Linked DNA regions of Homo sapiens: region 2 is linked to region 1. Evidence: promoter capture Hi-C in human tissues and cell types (Jung and others, 2019). All regions are on one chromosome and are shown on one strand. Each heading gives the region's core, a stretch centred on a gene start or on the middle of the fragment in contact. The rest is flanking DNA. Distances are from core to core; before and after follow the strand shown. Region 1 holds the start of SIAH3 (siah E3 ubiquitin protein ligase family member 3). Region 2 holds the start of LOC105370194 (a long non-coding RNA gene).

Evidence for each region. Contacts are between HindIII fragments. The study calls those that stand out against the background at their distance.
Region 2: a fragment that was not itself captured here is called in contact with the fragment with the promoter of SIAH3 in region 1 in 1 of the 25 tissues and cell types used here (dorsolateral prefrontal cortex).

Annotation. Positions count from the first base shown.
Region 1 is chr13:45,846,762-45,853,972 of GRCh38, reverse strand. It overlaps SIAH3 (siah E3 ubiquitin protein ligase family member 3), which reads left to right and starts at 2,220. Exons shown (of 2, transcript NM_198849.3): 1 at 2,220-2,478. The coding sequence starts at 2,344. RefSeq lists enhancers at 3,111-3,648, 6,274-6,964. The HindIII fragment of the contact is 6,525 bases long and covers 1-6,284 here.
Region 2 is chr13:46,317,077-46,324,764 of GRCh38, reverse strand. It overlaps LOC105370194 (a long non-coding RNA gene), which reads left to right and starts at 3,006. Exons shown (of 3, transcript XR_941946.4): 1 at 3,006-3,157; 2 at 7,542-7,688. RefSeq lists enhancers at 3,270-3,769, 4,827-5,375. The HindIII fragment of the contact is 6,042 bases long and covers 2,442-7,688 here.

The DNA.
Region 1 (7,211 bases), core at 971-3,470:
GAGGTATTTCTGTACTTTCCTCTCAATTTTGCTGTGAACCTAAAACTACTCTAAAAACATTAGGTCTTTAATTTCTTAAAAATCAAGATAAAATTAAAGGAGCATTGATTTTTATATCTTAAGCACAAGCATGAGATTATCAACACAAAGTTATAGATCTTTGACCTATTTGCTGGCATCCTTATTTTGTGTACAATCATTTTATTTTAAAAATACCTTTCCAAAAAAAAAAAAAAAACAGCAGAAATCCCCATTCTCATGGAACTTACTTCTAGCAGGATGACGGAAACAATACATCTTTAAAAAGTAAAGAAAAATGAAACAAAACAGAACAAAAAATCAACACAATCGTTCCACTAGAGCCAAAGATGTAAAAATAATTTGAACCTTTCTAAATTATGAATATATCTTTAAGGAATCTATGAGAGTATCTGCACACTTTTAGTTTTTAAAACAAGTAAGCCAATGAAAGGACATTAAATGTTTTCCCAATGAACTGCTGAAAGCTTATTTTCTGGACAATTCAAACTTTAGAAAGCAGATTCTGGTTTTGTGGGCCAGCAACCTTTATTATATGCCATGTAACAAGTGGCTCCAGGGACTCAGGTCCTATAAAAATATCACATTGATGAGGTTCTAATCAGTTCAAATGTTGTCATCTTCTAGTTTGGTGCCAGTGTCGTTATTTTAAAAGTGCAAAGTTTCCATGTTTAATTGGTGTTCAGCTTGTCTCTTAAAACATTGGTTTGGTTTTAAATGCAAGTTAAAATGAACAGCCTGGGCTCTGTCCTGGCATCAATAAACTTGTGCATTATTTTTATCCCGTATGTTATTCTGTTGTTAGTTTAACTGCCTGACCAGGTCACAGACCTAGGTGTTCCACGTGTGCATATGTTTTGCATACATTACAACCCAAGCATTGTAGCCAGAGCAGAACAAGAGCCATGAGGGAGGGGGCTCACACTCACAGGGTACAATTCACAGTGGGGGCTGATCCTGCTCCAGGCAGCACTGGATCTGGCCTGACTTCTCAAGAGAGAAACAACCAGGGAAGAGGGAAAACACAATACACTGAACTCCCCTGCTTTAGCTGCAAAGACTAAACCATCAGAGCTAGTCCCGAAAAACCCAAAACCCTTCAAGTACTGCTTAGGAATCTTTCTTCAAGAACCAGCGGCCTCCCGCCCACCCACCAGCCCTGTTCTGGGGAGCAAGGACAGGTTTGCAGTCTGAGGACTGGAATGCCCTCTGCCTGTGCCAGCACAGAAATGTGCTGCTAGCATTTGCAGAAACAAGTAAATGATGTGGTATGTGCATCCTTAATCTCTATTTTAATGTCTCCAGCAATCTAGTGGTTAATTAGCAATTTGCTGCCCACCAATATGCAAATGAATGACAAGCAAAGGTTCTCTGCATCTGTAATTATTTTGCTGATTTACAAGCCTCTTTCCTCTCAGTGTAGGTTTTTCTGTGTGTGTGCATTCATGCATCAGGGATTTCATTATTTTTTGAAGCATACTCTGTGCATTTTTATCCTTTAATACTTTCAGACTTCAGTAATCACAGTATTTTGAAAAAAAGAAAATATATATATATGTATAGTAATATATATGTATGTGCTTCCCTCCACCCCTCAACTCCAAATGAATTTGTCAGGGATTCTTTTCTTTGATAAAGAGTGGAGAGTAAGATTTATCAAGGGGCTGTAATCCAAATTGCAGAAAGTCAGAACGCAAGATTGAAAGATACACATTTTTGCTGCTGCCAAGTCCTTATCTGGATTCAGAGTCTAGTAATATTTTATTTTCTCCCAAGCAGCTCTGGTGAGTCGAGCCATGATCTGCGTTATCCATCTGCCTACTTTGGAGCGGGGTGTTGTACTATTTGGCGGCTTAAACGCTTTACGTTCTTGCCAGGGCATTAAGAAAGGCTCTCATGTTAAATTAAGTCAATTAATAAATGGAGACACATTAAGCAATCAATTTTGTCAGCCTATCTCCCCAGCATTAGGTATGGTTGGCTGTAATCACAAGATAAATGCAATGTGCTGATCTATGGTAATGTTCAATAATACATTCTCCGCCAGGCTCAATTCATCAGGGAGTTTCGGTAGGGAAGGCATTTGTTATTGGCTGTCTCTGCACCTCAAGGATAACATTTCTGTCCTTTTGATTGGCCGCCTCACTGCTGCAAGATTCTAACCGTCTTATTTTGATGATGAATATGAAGGCGCGCTAAGCCGGGCTGGAGCGGAGTGTCTCAGAGGCTGCGCTCCTTCCAGGGCCCAAGGACTCACAGCTTCCTCCGCTGCCTTCCCGGACCAACAACCCCCCAAAAGTTGTGATGCTTTTCTTTACCCAGTGCTTTGGGGCTGTATTAGATCTCATTCATCTCCGGTTTCAGCACTACAAGGCTAAACGGGTTTTCTCCGCTGCCGGGCAACTTGTCTGTGTCGTCAACCCCACACACAACCTAAAGGTGAGTCTCTGTGTCATTTTACCTTCACCGGGCTCAGGTTCAAGTCCTTTCTCGGAGGCGGCAGCGACCCTCCGGCGAACGTGTGCAGCCCTTTGCAAACCCGGGTCTCGGGGGCTGGGACGGTGTCTGGAACCCGGCGTGTTTGCCTCGGCTCACTCTCGCTCTCTAGGTGATTGGGTGCTGTTAGTGACCGAGTGTTGTTTCCCCAGCTGGCAGGAAAAGCTGGATTGATGGTCTGATGTCTTTCCCCGACGCTGTCAACCTGAGAGTGGCGTGGGGGGCAGAAGTGAGGGTGGTGGAGGGAACAGGGGGGCGTCCCCATCACTCCCCCTACTATTTGTGGGCAAGTGCTCAGGAGACAGGATTTGAAGTTAGCCAAATTCTCTCTGTCCCATGTGTTGGGAGAGGTGGTCAAACACGAGGATTTTAGAAGCTACTGGGGGGTGAGGAATCCTGAAACAGGGACTTGGACGTCGGTGGGGTGGGGGGAGGGTTCTTTCTGCAAAGTGTTTGTCCTTGTCCTCAGACTCGTGTGTGTGTGTGTGTGTGTGTGTGTGTGTGTGTGTGTGTGTGTGGTGTCGGGAGGATTTTGGCTTATTTCCTTCCTGCTGGTTAGATGCGCTCTGTGTACTGGAGCAGGATTTGCCTGGCTTGTGTAATAATGACACCAGCTTCTAGCTGCTGCCGCCGCTGCCTGGAGCACCCTAGGCAGCTGGGTGCTGGGTTGCTCGCGGCTGCCTAGCTGCCCCGGGGCCTCTGCATTTGTACCCTCAGGTCAGTGCCCTTTTAGAGACCAGACAAAATATGGGGTCCGGCAGAGCCGCTTAACATCACAGCCAAGACTGACTGGGAAAGGAATGATGGGCCACTGGTTAGGGGTAGTAGGGAGGAGGGGAAGTCAGGGAGGTGGGGGCTGGGGAGAGGGTGCAGCTGAACTCCCCGGATGGGAAACTCAGCACCTTGCCTCTCTCCTAACATAAAAGATGGACTCATTGGAAGTTCCTTTCCTGTACTCCTGTGTAAGGCAGGCAGGACTGAGTGCCGGGGGAGGGGCCGTGTCTGTAGCGACAGTGCCTGACAGTCTCTGTGAGGATAGATCTGTCCCTCTGACCACTGCTGTTGGGCAGGAAGAGCATTGCCTGTTGTCCATTACTTTATAAACTCCCACGGCCGGACTGTCCTCAGCTGGAGCCCCGCAGGTCAGCGCTGATGGGTGCCCCCACTCCTAGAAGTTCCGCCGAAAGACAGCTGCCTGGAGCTGCTGGGGTTACATGCCAAGGCCAGTCCTGGGGGAGGGGCGATGGACTATCCTGGGACCCCTATGGTGCATCTGACCTAGGATCTGACTCTCTCTGATATCCCAGCTGTGACGAATGCCATCGCATGCAACCGTTCACACCTGCTCTTGCTTGCGCGCTCTTGCCTCTCATTCCACTATTTCTTTTTTTCTTTTATAGCTTAGTTTTATAAATGAGAATTTACTACCAGTCATCCTTGGCAAAGCAAGTATGTAGTATGCACATTAAAATAAAATTCTGAATTCCATTTTATGGCCACTTTTGAGACTGCATTCAAACTTCCATTATTTTTTCCACTTTGGATTAGTTAGTTCCCTGGGGCAAGAAATTTTGTTTACTTCTGTTTTGTATTTTAATACCTTTAAAAATTGCTTATGAGACTTTAGCATTTCTGAAGTTTGCATTTATATGGTTCATTGACTGCAGCTGATGATGGAGAATAGAGAGGTGTTAAGGTCTCTGTGTGGAGTGAGGGGAAACCACTTGTGTATATTTCTCAATGATGTCTGCCTGGATTTTGACAAGTCGTCTTGCTGCCCTGACCCAGGAGTTCAGAGTCAGGGTTGGAGGCCTTGAGTCATCTCTGGCCAGCTGTGTGAACTTGAACTCCTCCTCCACCTCTTTGAGACTTCCCTTCCTCACCTTTTAAATGGGCTGATGAACATCTGCCCTTTCTCCGCCTCAGCTTTTGAGACTGAAAAGAGGTATCAGAGGTGTTTCATAACTCTCCTCTAAAAATAATGTATGTTATTGTATATATAATTTGTAGAGTTCCAATAGCAAATTCAAAAGTTGTCACTTAACACCTTCAGGCAATTTAGAAATTGTATAATCAGCAACATAAAAATGGATGACGTATGCTTTGAGAGGACATAGCTCACTTTTTCACTTACACTCTTATTTGGCTTTTCATTTCGCACACAAAAAAACCACTTATGGATTTTGCTCAGAGGAACATCACCCCAGATAAACAAAGCAAGTTGAGTGCTGCTAATGCCCCCTCAGGATTAGGCACACAGGATTTGGAGAGGGCGCCAGGTAGGGAGAGACCTGGAGGGTCCAGGTGGCCCATCAGGTAAGTTTCACTCCCTTCTCAAACCTAAGGGCTAATAGCCATTTGCAGAGCTTTAAAAGGACTAACTCCATAGGAGTGTCACTGCCCCATTGCTTGTATAAAAAGCACATGTAACCTCAAAAAAATTCTCCTTCTAAACGCTGATTTCCATAAACAGACCACGGAAATATGCCTTGGACGTAATAAGCTGTGATCTATGTAATGAGGAGGAAAGTCCTTCTTTTGTTAAAGGAAAAAAATAAAACCTGTGGCAGTATTAACCCAGAATAGCTATTGATCTGCCGTGCTTCCCCACATTTTGTATGACAGGCCAGTATATGAAATGGTGACCAAGGACAGAGAGACTGCAACCTTGCTTTCAATTTTATGGGTTGCGTGTAGCTACAAAGAGGGCTGGGAAGCTTGTGTTTTTCCTTGTGGAAGCATTTATGTGTTTTATCCTTTCCTGGGCTTTCCTGAGAATTCGAACCAACAGCATTTTAGAAACTGAGGCAAGTGCTGAGTTATAATCAAAATTCACTTACCAAGCAAAGAAAATTGTGTATTTACCATGCTTCTATAGGTCACCTTCATTCTCAATCTTATTATGGTGATTACTCAGTAACCTGGGATTCCTTCGAGCAAGCTGATGCCTTTCCTTCTAAATGGAAGGCAGAGCCTTCCTGGGGACATCAGATCCTCTGGTTAAAGCCATTACACCCCTGAAGCTCACCCTAATTAAAAGGGACATTTAGAGTAGCCAGCCTTGAACATAAGAGACCTCAGCTTTCAGTGAGTGCCAGGCAGTGGAGTGCAAACAAGACCATTTCCCTCAGTCTCTGCCTGTCTCTGTCTCTGAGGACCACTTGCACAGATTAGGGTTCCAAATGGTGCCCCCACTTCTTTCCACCCCATGAAAAGTGACCGTCAAGGAGCCAGCTCTCTTGGCCAGCTGCCCTCTGCTTCCTCATTCACAGAGGTTATTGAAATGTGACGAGCAGACTTCAGGCTGGCGCTCATGAGGGCGCCTGCTCCTGGTCCTGATTCAGCACTCCTCTCTCCCTCCTGTCCTTTGCTTGTTTCTAAACCAAGAAAGCCTTTCTCTCCTGGCTCCACTCCCATTGGCGCCAGCTGCTTCTACAGCGCCCTGCCCTGGGCAGCCCTGCCTTCTTTTGCCCCATCTGCAGAGGTGCCCTTTGAGGGGAGGAGCGGTCAGTCCCTGTGCCCAGGTTTTTCCAGAGAAGGCTCTGTAGTGCTAGGGGTCGGTCTGGGGTCAGTCATCAGCACTTCCCAAGCAGGCAGTAGCTAGGCTGAGGCTGGCTGAGTGACTTCCTCCTCTTAACCACAGCGTTTGATAAACAAGTTTCTGAAAGAAGAATAGTAAAATGCTTTCTGGCAAACTTCCATGAGGCCCTCTCTGATACCTCCAACCTGTGCCTGCACCACCCCAGACAACCCCATTAACCTTGAGGTGCAACAGAAACACACACGTGCACACACACACACACACACACACACACGAACACATGGAGTGGGAGGGGCATATGGGACAATCGTGGCTTTAAGTGCCCGACAGATATGAAATCTAAAGCTGGGGCACTTCAGTACCATTTGTTGATGCATCCACGTGCCTTCCATTCTAAGACCAACTTGTGTGGATAAATGTGTATTGAGTGGCAGTGGGGAGGGTGGGAGCTGTAAGGAAGAGGAGGAGGCAGAGACCAGGAAAGGAGAGATGTGAGATGTGTGCCCACCTTTGCCATTTATGGGATAATCTTTGGAAATCCCGTGCTGCCCCGGGGTTTGCTAACTCTGTTTCATACAGCACAGCAGGTGGCTCAATGAGAGGTAAAGACCTGAGCATTGTCTAGAGATTTAGAGGTGGCCTTTGGAGTGTTCTGCGTGAATACCTACTTTACAGCAGTTAAAGGCTTCCAACAAGACTGTTTAATAGCTGGTATGTGGGTTACTCAGTTCCTCTCCACACAGTCACCTCTGACAGTCCCATTCCCAGTCCTCTGGGCATTTCACTGTCTTGTTTCTCTGTCCAGTCTGGAGCCACTTTGCCAGAGGGGCTGGATAAAGGGTAAGGAAGGGGACCCCAAGCTGGTGGTGGTCACTGTGCGAGCATTATTCTAAAGGCTTTGCAGCCTCTTCCAGCCCATGGGTTCTGTGAATATTGTATGACACTCCACTCTGTGGGCTCAGAGCATTCGTGCGGCTTTTCTGGTTAATGGTGATTGCAAATGAGGCTCCTGAGTCACATAACGGGGAGGCCCAGAGCCTGGAGCAGTAATTTGGTTAGCCCTGTGCCGGTGATTGAGTTGTAGGGGAGGCTGAAGCTGGCGGCTATGATGAGGTGAGCCGATTACCTCTGTACT
Region 2 (7,688 bases), core at 4,213-6,712, 470 kb before region 1:
CCAGTAAACTTTGTTGTTACTGGAGAGGGAAGCAGGCAGGCTGACATCAGAGAGAAAGCCCAGGTGGCTCACTGCAGCCATCAAGTTCCTTCTCCCAAACTCACCGGAATGACAAGTCGTTCTTCCTCCCGGGTCAGCCCCTACACATGAGTGTGGCTGTACCAGTGATGACAATACTGGAATACTTCCATGCAGCTGAGAAACAGCATCCTCTCTAGCCTCCAGCCCCTCCTTCCGACTCTCAGACCTCCCAGCGACAGCACCTGGCAGGGGCACCAAAGACCCCTTCCAGGTGGCATCTTTTCTGATTGGTGGTGACCATGCTTCACTGGTTGTTAAATGTCCTGACTGTCATATCCTAGGTGTGGAGAAAGGGGCCAGGAACATCCCCCGCCTCCTCTTTTCTATCAGGGAATCATGATTCCCTGCTTGGTATGGAAACCTGAGGTGTAGGAAAGTGTTTCCCCCAAATAATGTTACTTTCCAGCACTCCTTTTCCAAAATTCAACAATCAATCATTAAAAGCCTTTATTTATGTAGCAGTGGCTCATTATAGAAATGATTGTACATTATAGAAATATTGTTTAGTTACAGCTTTTAGTAATCAAACTGCTATCTCTGAAAACAGTTCTCCTTCAGAGACCTGGAGGAGACGCCCGGTCTTAAGAGCTGTATGTTATCTAGGCCAGGCACAGTGGCTCATGCCTGTAATCCTAGCACTTTGGGAGGCCAAGGCAGATGAATCACCTGAGGTCAGGAGTTCAAGACCAGCGTGGCCCACATGGCAAAACCCCGTCTCTACTAAAAATACAAAAATTAGCAGGGCGTGGTGGTGCACGCCGGTAATCCCAGCTACTCGGGAGGCTGAAGAAGGAGAATCACTTGAACCCGGGAGGCGGAGGTTGCAGTGAGCCAAAATCGCACCACCGCACTCCAGCCTGCGCGATGGGAGCAAGACTCCATCGAAAAAAAAAAAAAAAAAGAGTTGTGTGTTATCTCCTGGAAGTGAAAGTTCAGGGGAAAGTTTCCATAGTTGCTCTTACTCCTGTCCATTAGTTGGGTTGATTCTCCTTATCTCAATCAGAATCCTTCCTGAACCTGCCCCAAGATATGGGATGAGCCATCACTTGGGCCAGCAACCCAGTGAAGACACCACAAGTCCTTGATTCTCTCTCCCGGTCCAGACTGAGAAGTTGCTGGAAATCAATTATTTTAGCTCAGCATAATGCAGACCATGGTAATATTCATCAGCTTAACCTGTCTTCTATACATTCTTGCATGTTTTCTTCCTACTTTTTGAGCTTCAAAGTTCTGCCTGTGCTGCAATGAGATACCACTGTACACCCTCTCAAAGGTCCCCAACTTAAAAGACTGATGATACCAAATGCTGGCGAGGATCTGGAGCAATAGGAACTCATGCATCGCTGGTGGAAATATGAAATGGCACAAACACTTTGGGAAACAGTTGGTCATACACTCACCATATGACCTAGAAATTCCACTCCTGCATATTTATCCAAAAGAACTGGAAAAAAAACCCCAAAGTCCATTAACAGAATGAATAAACCAATCTTGTTATATTCATACAATAGGATACTACTGGAAATAAAAAGAACAAACTGCTGATAAATCCAAAAGCCAGAAGCAAAAAAGAACATGCTGTATGAATCCATCTACATGAAATTCTATAATAGGCAAATCAATAGTGAAAGAAATCACATCTTGTTGTAATCACACTCTAAACCGTAAAATTGGATACTCTAATTATATACAATTTATTCCCCCACAAATCTTCATGATGTCCATGTGGATTTCCAAGTGACTTTTTTTCAGAAACCACACACAGAACTTTAAAATCAACTGTATTGAAGTATAACTTGTATAGAATAAAATATAACCATTTTAAGTGTATTGTCTGATGAAGTTTTGACAAAGATATACATCCATGTGTACTCCCCAGTTAAGATATAGAACATTTAGTTGTTTTTTTTTTTTTTTTTTTTTTTTTTTGCGACAGTCTCACTCTGTTACCCAGAGTGGAGTGCAGTGGCGAGATCTTGGCTCACTGCAACCTCCACCTCCCAGGTTGAAGCAATTCTTGTGCCTGAGCCTCCCGAGTAGCTGGGATTACAGTCGCCTGCCACCATGCCCGGCTAATTTTTGTATTTTTAGTAGAGATGGGGTTTTGCCATGTTGGCCAGACTGGTCACGAACTCCTGACCTCAAGTGATCCGCCTGCCTCGGCCTCCCAAAGTGCTGGGATTACAGGTGTGAGCCACCGCGCCTGGCAATATAGAACATTTCTGTCATCTAGCAAACAAAGTCCTAACTGGAACCCCAGAGGATCTCGTTAAAGAAGCAGGACTAAACTAAGTTAGGCTGTGGGTTCCATCCATAGTGCCCTCTTTCTACACACACACAGTTGCCCCGACAGTTACCCACACCCTGCATCCCTAATTTCTACCCACAAACGGCTGGGTACAGTGGCTCACGCCTGTAATCCCAGCACTTTAGGAGGCCGAGGCGGGCAGATCACCTGAGGTCAGGAGTTCGAGACCAGTCTGGCCAACATGGTGAAAGCCAGTCTGTACTAAAAATACAAAAAAGCCGGGTGTGGTGGCAGGCTCCTGTAATCTCAGCTACTCGGGAGGCTGAGGCAAGAGAATCGCTTGAACCCGGGAGGTGGAGGTTGCAGTGAGCGGAAATCGCACCACTGTGCTTCAGCCAGGGTAACAGAGTGAGACTCCATCTTGGGGGGAAGAAAAAGAAAAAGTAGTAGTAACCACACCACGTATTGCATAGGGGTGTTGTGAGGGTTAAATTAGGTAACGTGTGTGATATTTGTAGATCAGCACCTAACACTTCGTAAGCCCTCAATTAAACATTAATCATTATCTGAGTGTTGCTACAATTTTGTAATTTCAAGGTACTGTGGGTCTCAGATCTGCCCACGAGAGGGCACTGGTGACACAGCTTTGCCTCAAAAGGTTTCCAGTTGAAAGACCAGGCAGCTTTGCTTGTGTCTAAGGAACTAAGGGTCCGATTTCTCATGAGCTGCTGAACCACAGATTTTAGAGCTGAAAGACACCCTGCAAGTGATCTAATCCAGTCATCAGATGTTGCAGTTATAAGCCATAGGCGGGTAAATGTGGACCTGGTGAGTACGACTTACAAAACCAACAGTCACAGGAAAAGCAACTTCACATGCGTTCTCTGTGGAGTTGAAAGGTAGGACAGAAACGCCATCTTTCTGGGAATAAAAACGCACCAAAAGTGTTAACAGCGTGCCAGGCTGAAATGAAAAGAAGGCACTGAGGTGTATATATGTGTGTATCTGTGTGTGTGTGTGTGAGAAAACCAGAGAGAGAAGAGAGAGGTCATGTAGATTTTTTTTTTAGATGAAAACAACGGATACTGGTTCTTTCTTCTAGATCAGCTCAGGAGACCAAAATATTCAAGATTTTCTTTGACAGGCTGAGCCTGAGAATGTCTTCCACACCCTTTCTCTGCTAAGGGGGAACTGTCCTACTTGCAGCCCCTGCAACTCAGCAGCCTGTTGGGTCCCTTCCCCTCCTCTCCAACCACACCTGACCCCAGGGGTCCCAGGCCTTAAGCTGGCCTGGGACATTCATCTCATCACCTGGTGTGAAAGATGCGTTGGGCCAGTCAGATCCTTGCTTTTCAAGATCTAAAGGATCAGAAGACAGGGTGGCGAGCAGCAGGAGCACAGAGTAAAACTTCAAGGAGCAGAAAGGCCCCAGGGTGACCTGGTGGCCTCACACAGGCCAGCGCATGAGGTAGCTGGCCTAGCTGTTGGAGCCATAGAGGAGAATAAGCCCACTGCAAGAAGCAGAAGGGCTGCTAGCCGAGAGGAGACTGGATGCCCCTGGAAGAACTGAAGGAGGTAGCAGGGTGCCTAGTGCATACCTCATTCCCCTTTTTGAAGCAAGTTGTTTGGGTCTCTAGTTCCCCACAACTAAATTCTGTAGAGAAAATTTTGAAAGTGTGATCAGATTGGAAACCACGTGGCAAAGGCAACACTGCGTTTATGTACAGACATCTCATTGTAAGAGAGCCTGCAGGGGTGTGTGTGGAGAGGGAAGAGAACAGGAGATGCTGCTGCTGCTCCTCCTCCTCCTTCCCCTCTTCATTGTCCTTTTTCTCTTCCTTTTCCCTCCTTCTCTTCCTCCTCTTCCTTGTCTTCTTTCCCCTCCTCCTCCCTTCTTGTCTTTTTCTTCCTCCTTCTCCGCCTCCTCTTCCTCTCCCTCCCCCTCTTCTTTCTTGTCTTCCTCCTCCTCCTGTTTCTTGTCTTTTTCCTTCTCTTCCTCTTTCTTATCTCCTTCCTTCCTCCTCCTTTTTCTTTTTTTTTTTTTTTTTTGTTTTGAGACGGAGTCTTGCTCTGTCGCCCAGGCTGGAGTGCAGTGGCCCCATCTGGTCTCACTACAAGCTCCGCCTCCCGGGTTCACGCCATTCTCCTGCCTCAGCCTCCCGAGTAGCTGGGACTACAGGCGCCCGCCACCACGCCCTGCAAATTTTTTTTTTTTTTTTTTTTTTTTTTTGTAGAGACGGGGTTTCACCATGGTAGCCAGGATGGTCTTCATCTCCTGACCTCGTGATCCGCCCGCCTTGGCCTCCCAAAGTGCTGGGATTATAGGCGTGAGCCACTGTCCCGGCCTCTTCCTCCTTTTTCTTCTGCTTCCCCTCTTCTTCCTTAGCTCTAAGAGGAATTAGAAAAAACTTTTTACTTTAAAATCATTTCATAATTAGAGAAAGTTGCAAAAGTAGTACAGAAAATTCCCATACCCTTTTGCTTAGATTCCCCAAATGTTGACATTTCTATGATTAAGGAAATTGTGACATATTTGTGCAATGCAATACAAACCGTAATTAGCCACATTAGCTAATACAAACCCTAATGAGCATATGGCTAATTAGCATAAGGCTAATTAGGGTTTGTATTCTATTGTACAAATTTTAACATTTGACAAATGTTAAAAACAAACTTGAGCAAAAGAGTCAAATCATGGAAGACGTTCATTAGTGATCACTTAACATAAATTTCACAGACAAAGCCAAGCATTACGTTGTTTACACTAGAGATCTACCCATAGGTGGTAGAAACGTTTTTTGTTTTTGTTTTTCAAAGCAAGTGAATGATGAACATAATGCAACATAGTGGTTGTCACAGATGGAGGGTGGGAGACAGGATCAGGGAGAGGTACTCCAGACCTTTGAAGGTACTGCTGATATTCTTTATTATTGACTGATTTGTTTTTAATTTAAAAAATACACATAATAGTATATATTTTGGGGGCACATAATGATGCGATACATGTAATATATAGTGATCAGATCAGGGTTAATAAGCATATCCATCATCTCAAACATTTATTATTTCTTTGTGTTGGGAACATTTAATATCATCCTAGCTATGTGAAACAATATTGTTAACTACAGTGATTCTACAATGGTATAGAACACTAGAGCTTGTTCTTCCTGTATAGCTGTAGTTTTGCATCCTTTAACAAATCTCTTCCCATCACTCCCTTATCTCTACTTCTCCCAGCTATTAGTATTCTCTGTTCTGCTTTCTACTTCTGTAAGATCAACATTTTAAGCTTCCACACATGAGTGAGAACATGTGGTATTTAACTTTCTGTTTCTGGCTTATTTCACTTAATATAATGTCCCCCAGTTCCACCTATGTTGCCACAAATGACAGGATTTCATCCTTTTTATGGCTGAATAGTATTCCATTACGTATATGTGCCATATTTTCTTTATCTGCTGTTGTACACCTGATTGATTCCATATCTTGGCTGTTGTGAAAAGTGCTGTAATAAACATGGAAGTGCACATGTCTCATCAATATACTGATTTCCTTTCCTTTGAATAAATACCCAGTAGTGAGACTGCTGGATCATATGGTGGTTCTGTTTGTAGTTTTTTGAGGAACCTCTACACTGTTCTCCACAGTGGTTGGACTAGTTTACACTCCCACCAACAGTGTATATGAGTTCCATTTTCACCTCATCCTCAACAGCATTTGTTATTTTCTGTCTTTTTAATAATAGTTATCCTAACTGGGGTGAGATGATGCTTCACTGTGAGTTTGATATGCATTTCCCTCATCAGGGAAATTAGTGATGTTAAACATTTTTTCATATATTTGTTGGCCATTTGTATGCCTTTTGAGCAAATGTCTGTTGAGATCATTTACTCATTTATTAATTGAATTGTTTAGTTGAATTAGATGAATTTTTGCTGTTCAGATGTTTGAGTTACTTGTATCTTCTGGATATTAACCCCTGTCGATGAATAGTTTGCAAATATTATATCCCATTCTGTAGACTGTCTCTTCACTCTGTTGATTGTTTCCTTTTCTATGCAGAAGCTTTTTAGTGTAACATAATCTCTGGTGTTTATTCTTGCTTTTGTTGCCTGTGCTTTTGAGATCTTATTCATATAATCTTTTCCCAGATCAATGTCCTGAAGTGGTTCCCCATTGTTTATTCTAGTAGTTTTATAGTTTCAGGTCTTCCATTTAGGTCTTTGATCCATTTTGAGTTGATATTTATATAGGGTGATAGGTAGGATTCTAGTTTTTCTTCTGCATGTGGATATTCTGTTTTCCCAGAACAATTTGTTGAAGAGACTGTCCTTTCCTTAGTCAATGTTCTTGGTACTTTTGTCAAAAATCCACTGGCTGTAGATACATGGATTGATTTCCAGGTTCTTTATTCTATTCCATTGGTCTATGTGTCTGTTGTTACACCAGTACTATGTTGTTTTGTTGCTACAGCTTAGTAGCATAGTTTGAAATCTGGTAGTATGATGTCTCCAGCTTTGTTCATTTTGTTCAGGATTGCTTTGGTTATTCAGAGTCTTTTGTGGTTCCATACAAATTTTAGAATTTTTTTCTCTATTTCTGTAAAGAATGTCATTGATATTTTGATAGGGATTGCATTGAATCTTTAAATTGCTTTGGGTAGTACAAATGTTCACATTCGTGTGAACTTCTCTATGTGTGTGTATGTGTGTGTGTGCATATTTGTACTTCTGAGATGTGTGAGTCTAGGATGCAGAAATGAAGTTTCTTTACCTCCAAATATTTTTATATTTCAATGGGTATTTCTGAAAGATAAGGATATTCTTTTACACAGTGAGACTTCAGTGATCAAAATCAGAAAATTAACATTGATATGATAGTATTATGTTTTTAAAAATATATACATTATTCAAAATTTGCCACTTGTGTTCTAATTCAAAATTTGCCACTTCTAATTCAAAATCACACATTGCATTTTTTGTCATAACCCTTTAATCTCCTTTAATGTGGGTCAAATCCTTGATTTTTCTTTCTTTCATGATTCTGAGAGATGAGTTATTTTGTAGTAGATCCTTCAATCTGGGTTTTCCTGATGTTTCCTCATGGTGGCAATCATGTTATATTCTTGGAAGGAACCTCATAGAAGTGAGGCTGTATCCTTTTATGCACAGGGAGACACAGCTTCTTAAATTCTCTCATCTTTCTCCTGCAGGGAAAATGCAGACCAACACCTTGCTGGAGTGCAAAGAGCCCCTAGCCAATTCCTAGGCCTTTGAGAAAACCTGGAAAAATTAACACTTGAAATAAATTTTGAAGAACAAGGAAAAGTTATTGACCTAAAGGCTGACAGGGAGGAATT